2 separate regions of the Homo sapiens genome follow, and region 1 is linked to region 2. Evidence: promoter capture Hi-C in human tissues and cell types (Jung and others, 2019). All regions are on one chromosome and are shown on one strand. The core of a region is centred on a gene start or on the middle of the fragment in contact, and the rest is flanking DNA. Distances in the headings are between cores, read along the strand shown. Region 1 has its middle 51 kb from the start of POU4F2. Region 2 holds the start of POU4F2 (POU class 4 homeobox 2).

What was found. The method cuts DNA at HindIII sites, captures the fragments that hold promoters and counts their contacts. A contact is called where the count stands out against the background at its distance.
Region 1: a fragment that was not itself captured here is called in contact with the fragment with the promoter of POU4F2 in region 2 in 2 of the 25 tissues and cell types used here (bladder and heart right ventricle).

Annotation. Positions count from the first base shown.
Region 1 is chr4:146,586,060-146,589,157 of GRCh38, reverse strand. No RefSeq gene overlaps it. Among named protein-coding and RNA genes, the nearest start is that of POU4F2, 51 kb to the left of the region's middle. The HindIII fragment of the contact is 4,220 bases long and covers 1-3,098 here.
Region 2 is chr4:146,637,640-146,640,912 of GRCh38, reverse strand. POU4F2 (POU class 4 homeobox 2) reads right to left here and starts at 2,020. Exons shown (of 2, transcript NM_004575.3): 1 at 1,485-2,020; 2 at 1-1,046. The coding sequence starts at 1,772. The coding sequence ends at 105. RefSeq lists enhancers at 1,340-1,921, 1,922-2,502, 2,503-3,084, 3,085-3,273. The HindIII fragment of the contact is 18,734 bases long and covers 1-3,273 here.

The DNA of each region.
Region 1 (3,098 bases), core at 440-2,939, 51 kb after region 2:
AGCTCTTCCAGGTTAGAGGAGATAGAATTTCAGAGATAAAACTCCTAGAAATTAAAGTCTTTCATTTCTGCTCCCAACTGCTTAGTTATCAGAATAGACTGAATATAGAACCAAATAATAAATGCTTTACAACATCCTCACAACATCCTATGTAGTAAGTCCTACTCTTATCAGTTCTCAGGTGAAGGAATGGAAGTACAGAGAGAGTGGCAAGTTGACAAGAGTTACAGAGATAGAAAAGTGGCACAGAAAGGAAACAAACTCAGGCAGTATGGCTTCAGAGCCTGTGCTTTTAACCACTATCTTAAACATACTCTCTGAGCAGCATGCATGTGTGATAATTTGTTAACGAATAAAGTCCTCTAGGTATTTTCTAGCTGCATGTATAGGTAAGGCTTGGTACAGACTATATGAATAGTTTGGTTTTCAAAAAAGGTTTTATCAGCATGACCTAGAATGCAGAAAGACTACTTTTGTCTAAAAATTAAAATCAAATCATCTTATTTGTACTGTGATGTGAACGTCTAACACTGGTATTCACTAACCATTAATATAAAAAGAATGCAGTAGGAGCAGCTCTTTGTAATCCCCCCTTCCCTCTGTCTTTTGACATTCTCTCTTTTTTCCCCCTTTCAATTCTTTTTATTTATTTATTTATTTTTATTATACTTTAAGTTCCTAAAACCATAAAAACCCTAGAAGAAAACCTAGGCAATACCATTCAGGACATAGGCATGGGCAAGGACTTCATGTCTAAAACACTAAAGGCAATGGCAACAAAAGACAAAATTGACAAATGGGATCTAATTAAACTAAAGAGCTTCTGCACAGCAAAAGAAACTACCATCAGAGTGAACAGGCAACCTACAGAATGGGAAAAAACGTTTGCAATCTACTCATCTGACAAAGGACTAATATCCAGAATCTACAAAGAACTCAAACAAATTTACCAGAAAAAAACAACCCCATCAACAAGTGGGTGAAGGATATGAACAGACGCTTCTCAAAAGAAGACATTTATGCAGCCAACAGACACATGAAAAAATGTTCATCAGCACTGGCCATCAGAGAAATGCAAATCAAAACCACAATGGGATACCATCTCATACCAGTTAGAATGGTGATCATTAAAAAGTCAGGAAACAACAGGTGCTGGAGAGGATGTGGAGAAATAGGAACACTTTTACACTGTTGGTGGGACTGTAAACTAGTTCAACCATTGTGGAAGACAGTGTGGTGATTCCTCAAAGATCTAGAACTAGAAATACCATTTGACCTAGCCATCCCATTACTGGGTATATACCGAAAGGATTATAAATCATGCTGCTCTAAAGACACATGCACATGTATGTTTATTGCGGCACTATTCACAATAGCAAAGACTTGGAACCAACCCTAGCCCTCACTAAATATTTCTTGATTGAAGTAAATCATCCAAATGCTGTAAATGCAGGAAATACTTTTATACTCTTACTTTCATGATGTTTTCCCCAGAAACCAGCACCAACTTCAATAGAAATTATCTCTGTTAACATTTCCAAAAGAATCACTTAATACCTACCAAATACATGTTGAGCACCTACTATATGCCAGACATTATCCTAGGTGCTGGGGGCATAATATTAAACGAAAAAAATATCTTGTGTTCCTGGATCTTCTGGAAGGGGAGATTGAATAAATATGCAAATAATTAAAATATATGGAATGGAGGATAGTCTCAAGTGCTGAAAAGAAAAAGTAAAGAAGGCATATATAAGATATCAGGGGTTGAAGAAACTGGAATTTCAAGTAATGTGGCCAGGCAATGCCTCAAAGAGAAGACACTTTTTGAAGGAAAGGGAGGATAGCAAAATGAGGAAGCAAAGAAGTTGTCAGCATAAATTGCATGTTCTAGGACTAGGAAGGAAGCCAGTGTGACTGGTGCAGAGAGAACAAGAGAGAGAGTGAAAAGTGATGAAAGTTAGGGAGGTAAAGAGGCCAGATCATATAGGATCTTAAAGGCAAGAGTTAGCAGCTTTTCTTTTACCCTTAGTAAGGAAGAAGCCACTGGAAGGTTTTGAGAAGATAAATGACATTACTTGCCTTAAGTTTTTCAGGATGACTCTGGCTATTGCGCTGAGAATAGACTGCAGAGGGTGTGGGCAGAAGAGAGCAAGGCTAGTACACTAATCTAGATGATAGCTGAGTGGCTTGGGCCAGAGAAGGAGTAGAGCAGATGGTGAGAAGTGGTCTCCTTCTAGATATATTTTAAAGGTAGAACTGCCAGGTTTTGCAGATACACTGAATGTGGGTTATGAGAAAAGTAAGGGAGTTAAAGATGCCACCAAAGTGATTGGCCTGAGCAAGTGGAGAAAGGTGATGTCTTAAATTGAGCTGGTGAAGGTTGCAGGAGAAGGTGACTTGGGAGGAAAAATCAGGAGCTCAATTTTGACTATGTTTAGACTAAGATGCTTGTTACGTATGTATACAATTAATGTGTCAAGTAACAAATATGTGTTTCTGGAAAAGACATTTTTGGACATCAAGTCTAGATTGATTATTTAAATTGTTTTTTATCATTTTAATAAAAGAATTGGAAGCAGCCTGTATAAGTCAAAATAATACAGAAATTTCAAGCAAAAATGAATTATTCCAAGGAGTTAGAAGCTCACACAATTATTGAAAAAATGGATGCCAGGAAAGATTTTCAGGAAATCCAGAAATTCAGTGATCATAGAGAAGCACTACTGATGATCACTTCTATTTTCTTGATGAGGTAGGATGTAAGGTAACATGCTGAGAATAAGAGGGATAAAGAGGGTTGTGGATAGGGTTTTTGAGGAAGCAGTAAAAGACACACTTGCTCACCAAAAAAATGTCTCTGCTGAGCCTGTCCCTGATTTCTCAAACAAATAGCTAGGATTGCGACATAATGGGATTTCATGCTGTTCTCCTGTTCTGGTGCAACTCTATGAACATTTAAAGTAGTTCTGTTTAAAAGCTCTTTTAGGAGCACAGCTACACACTAGCAGACAATAAGAGATGCAAGCAGAACTCAACTCTGAACTTGTGAAACGCAGATTTACAGCCTACCCTAGAGATTCTGATTCATTAGGTTT
Region 2 (3,273 bases), core at 771-3,270:
ATTTACTGGAATTGTTTCTAGTCGCCAAAAGTGAAAAGAGGCAGAAGAGAGGAGAGAAAAGAGCGGACGAGGAAAGGGGCGTCTCTGGAGAGGCCAAGAGTCTTCTAAATGCCGGCGGAATATTTCATTCTTTTCTGTTTCTGCCTCTGGTTGCAGAACCAGACGCGCACCACGTTTTTCTTCAGGTCCAGCTTCTCCGCGATGGCGGCGATCTTTTCAGAGGAGGGCCGAGGCTGAATGGCAAAGTAGGCTTCGAGCGAGCGCTTCTCTGGCGCAGCGATGGACGTGCGCTTGCGCTTCTTCTCCGCGCCATTGAAGAGTTCAGGCTTGGTGAGCTTCTCGCGGTGGGACTTCTCGGCCTCCTCGAGCCATGCCTGCAGGATGGGTTTGAGCGCGATCATATTATTGTGGGACAGTGTGAGGGACTCGAACCTGCAGATGGTGCTCTGGCTAAGCGAGCCCACGCCGGGGATCTTGAGGTTGGCCAGCGCGGAGCCCACATCTGCCTGGGTCACCCCCAGCTTGATGCGTCGCTGCTTGAAGCGCTCGGCGAATGCCTCCAGGTCCCGCGGGTCGGCGTCCACGTCGCTCATGCAGCCCATGTGCGACGGCAGCCCGTGCGCGTGGGCCATGCTGAGCGCTGCTTGGTGCATGGGGTTCATGGTGGCCATGTGCGGCGCGTGAGCCGGCGTGGACACCACAGCGCCGTCGGGGCCCGCCATAGCGCCCAGGGCCAGCCCGGGACTCAGGTGCTCCAGCAGCTCGCCCTCCAGCGCCTGGTGCGGTTGGTGGTGGTGGTGGTGGTGATGGTGGTGGTGGTGGTGCGTGCCCGCCAACGCGGAAGGGTGCGAGATGGGCACCGATGAAGAAGAGGCGGCCGACGTGCACGGGATGGTATTCATAGTGTGGTAGGTGGCGTCCGGTTTGAAGGGGCTGTGGTGGGGTGGATGGTGGTGGTGGCTCTTGCTCTGGGAGACGATGTCCACGGCTGCCAGAGCCTCGGCGCGGGCCAGCAGACTCTCATCCAGCCCGCCGAATATATTGCTCTGCAATTGTAAGTAGAAGGCACACATTACGCTCAGCAGGGAATTGTACGCCCTCTCTCCGGAAGCCCCGGCCCAGGGCTCGACACCGTCGCCGCGCCTACAACATTCCCAGATCGTTAAAATAATAATAATAATAATCCTGAAAACAGAGGTGAAGAGAAAAAGAGGGAAGCCACAGAAAGAAGCCGAGAGTGCAGGAGGAGGAGGAAAGTGAGCCTGTAGACACAACGAAACACAACACAACACGCGCACAGGCAACATCCCAGGTCATAAAAATTAATATGAAAGGCAAGACCTGCTGAATACTTAAGAGAGAGAGAGGGGAAAATTGGTTGGAGGTGTGGGGTGATTTGCTGTGCAGACATGAAAAAAACATCAAGCAGATAAAGGGGGCTGTCAAAATGTGCCTTTAAGCGGTGATTATGCAGAAATACGCACCGGTGGGGTTGGAAGACAGGCTCTCCGCATAGCCTCCGAGCCCCCGCCGCCGCTGCTGCCACTGCTGCTGGAGCTGCTGCTTCGGCCTCCGCCGCCGCCGCCGCCGCCGCCGCCGCCGCCGCCACCACCAGCGTTGCTCGAGCTGCTGGGGGAGCTGGCCGAGGGCGCGATGGGAGCCGAGGAGCCCGGCGAGGTGCTGTGCAGTGCCGAGTACTTGGGCTCCACGTGCAGGCTGCCGCCGTGCGGCATGCTAAACGCCTGCTTGCTGTTCAGGGACATCATCATCATCTTCCCGCCCGCCGGGGCGCTGGTCCGTAGAGGCACTCACTGGTCCCGGCTGCCGGGACCCTCCGAGAAGTGCCGGGCCAGCCGGGGCTGGAGCTGGGAAGGGCTGTGCGAAGTTGAGCTCACCCGCCGCCGCCTCCGGACTCTGTACGCCTGATCTCGGCTACGCGCTCCTTCGCCGCCTCTGCTGTCAGTCTGAACGGATGCCTGACTCCGCTTGCCGCTAGCTGCAGACCTCGGCACCCGAAACTGCCCCCGCTCCTCGCGGCCGGCGAGTTATACTCCCCTCTCCCCGCGCCTACCCCCGCGCCCCCCGCCCTCCCTCTCTCCCTCTCTCCCGCGCGCCTCCGCCCTCCCTTGCCAGGAAACGCCGGCTCCTGTTCGGTTTCTCGCGTTGCCCCTTCTTCCTCTCTACTCCCCTCAGGCTTGAGTCCTTTCTGCTCTCTCAGCACTCGCCTCGCGCTCCCCCACCGCGCCCTCCGCCGCCTCTTTTCTGCCCCCGCCCGTGCTCTGTTGCCGCCGCCCCTTCGCAGCGTCCCGCGGCTGCTACTCACAATCGCGCCCCCACTCAACCCCACCCAAATGGCCAGGTCCGCGCTCCAGTCGCCGGGCAGTGCCTACCTAAGGACCAGCCTCCAGCCCCTCCCGCTTCTTCTGCCGGGTCTCTGTCTCACCGGAAAAAGAAACTCCCAAATAAAGTTGCGGCCCAAGCCAGCGTTGGGTAGGTAAGAGTGCCTCTTACCTGGCTGCCACCTCCTACGCCTCCTGCTTACCACTAAGTTCCAGGCTTCCAACCCCACTCGGCCCGCCCCCACCCCGTCAGCTCAGGTGACCCTGATCCCAGGTTCCCGGCCACCGCTGAGAACACAGACGTTGCGGCCAACCCGGGTTCTGCGCGCGGCTCTGAACTCCCAGCCCAATACGAGCGGAGGTCGGCGTTCGGCTACGAGCCCCCCACGGCCCGGCGGGTGCCTGGTGCCAAAGAGACATGGGGTCGGAGGGGCTGCAGGGCTTTCTCTCACTCGATTTCTCGCAGCTCTCAGCGGATTGGACAGCCGCGGAGCAGGCTCGGGTCGTCTGTGCGCATGCGACTCCTCCCCCTCCCCGCTGTCCCCACCCCTCCCACAACACACACACACATACACACAGGCACACACACACGCTCCTCTTGCCCCCCTTTTCTCTTCCTCCTCCTCCCTGTATCCAGTACAGTTCGAGTTGAGTCTTGGAAGGATCCACTGGCAAACCCTGCCCCTGGATTTATTATTCTTCATTAGCCACAATCAAAGGAAGAAGGGGCAACTGACAGGGAGAGGGAAGGTCAGAAATTACACAGCGCATATGCTGCTGAATACACCCCACAACACAGACACACACACACACACCCTCGGGGGCTGGCACAAACCTCACTTATCTTCATTTCCACAGCCTCTCGGTGCGGAGCCTATTTTTAGCTGACACTTCACTCCCACTTCTGTCCCAGTCCCAGTGCAGACCACTTTTC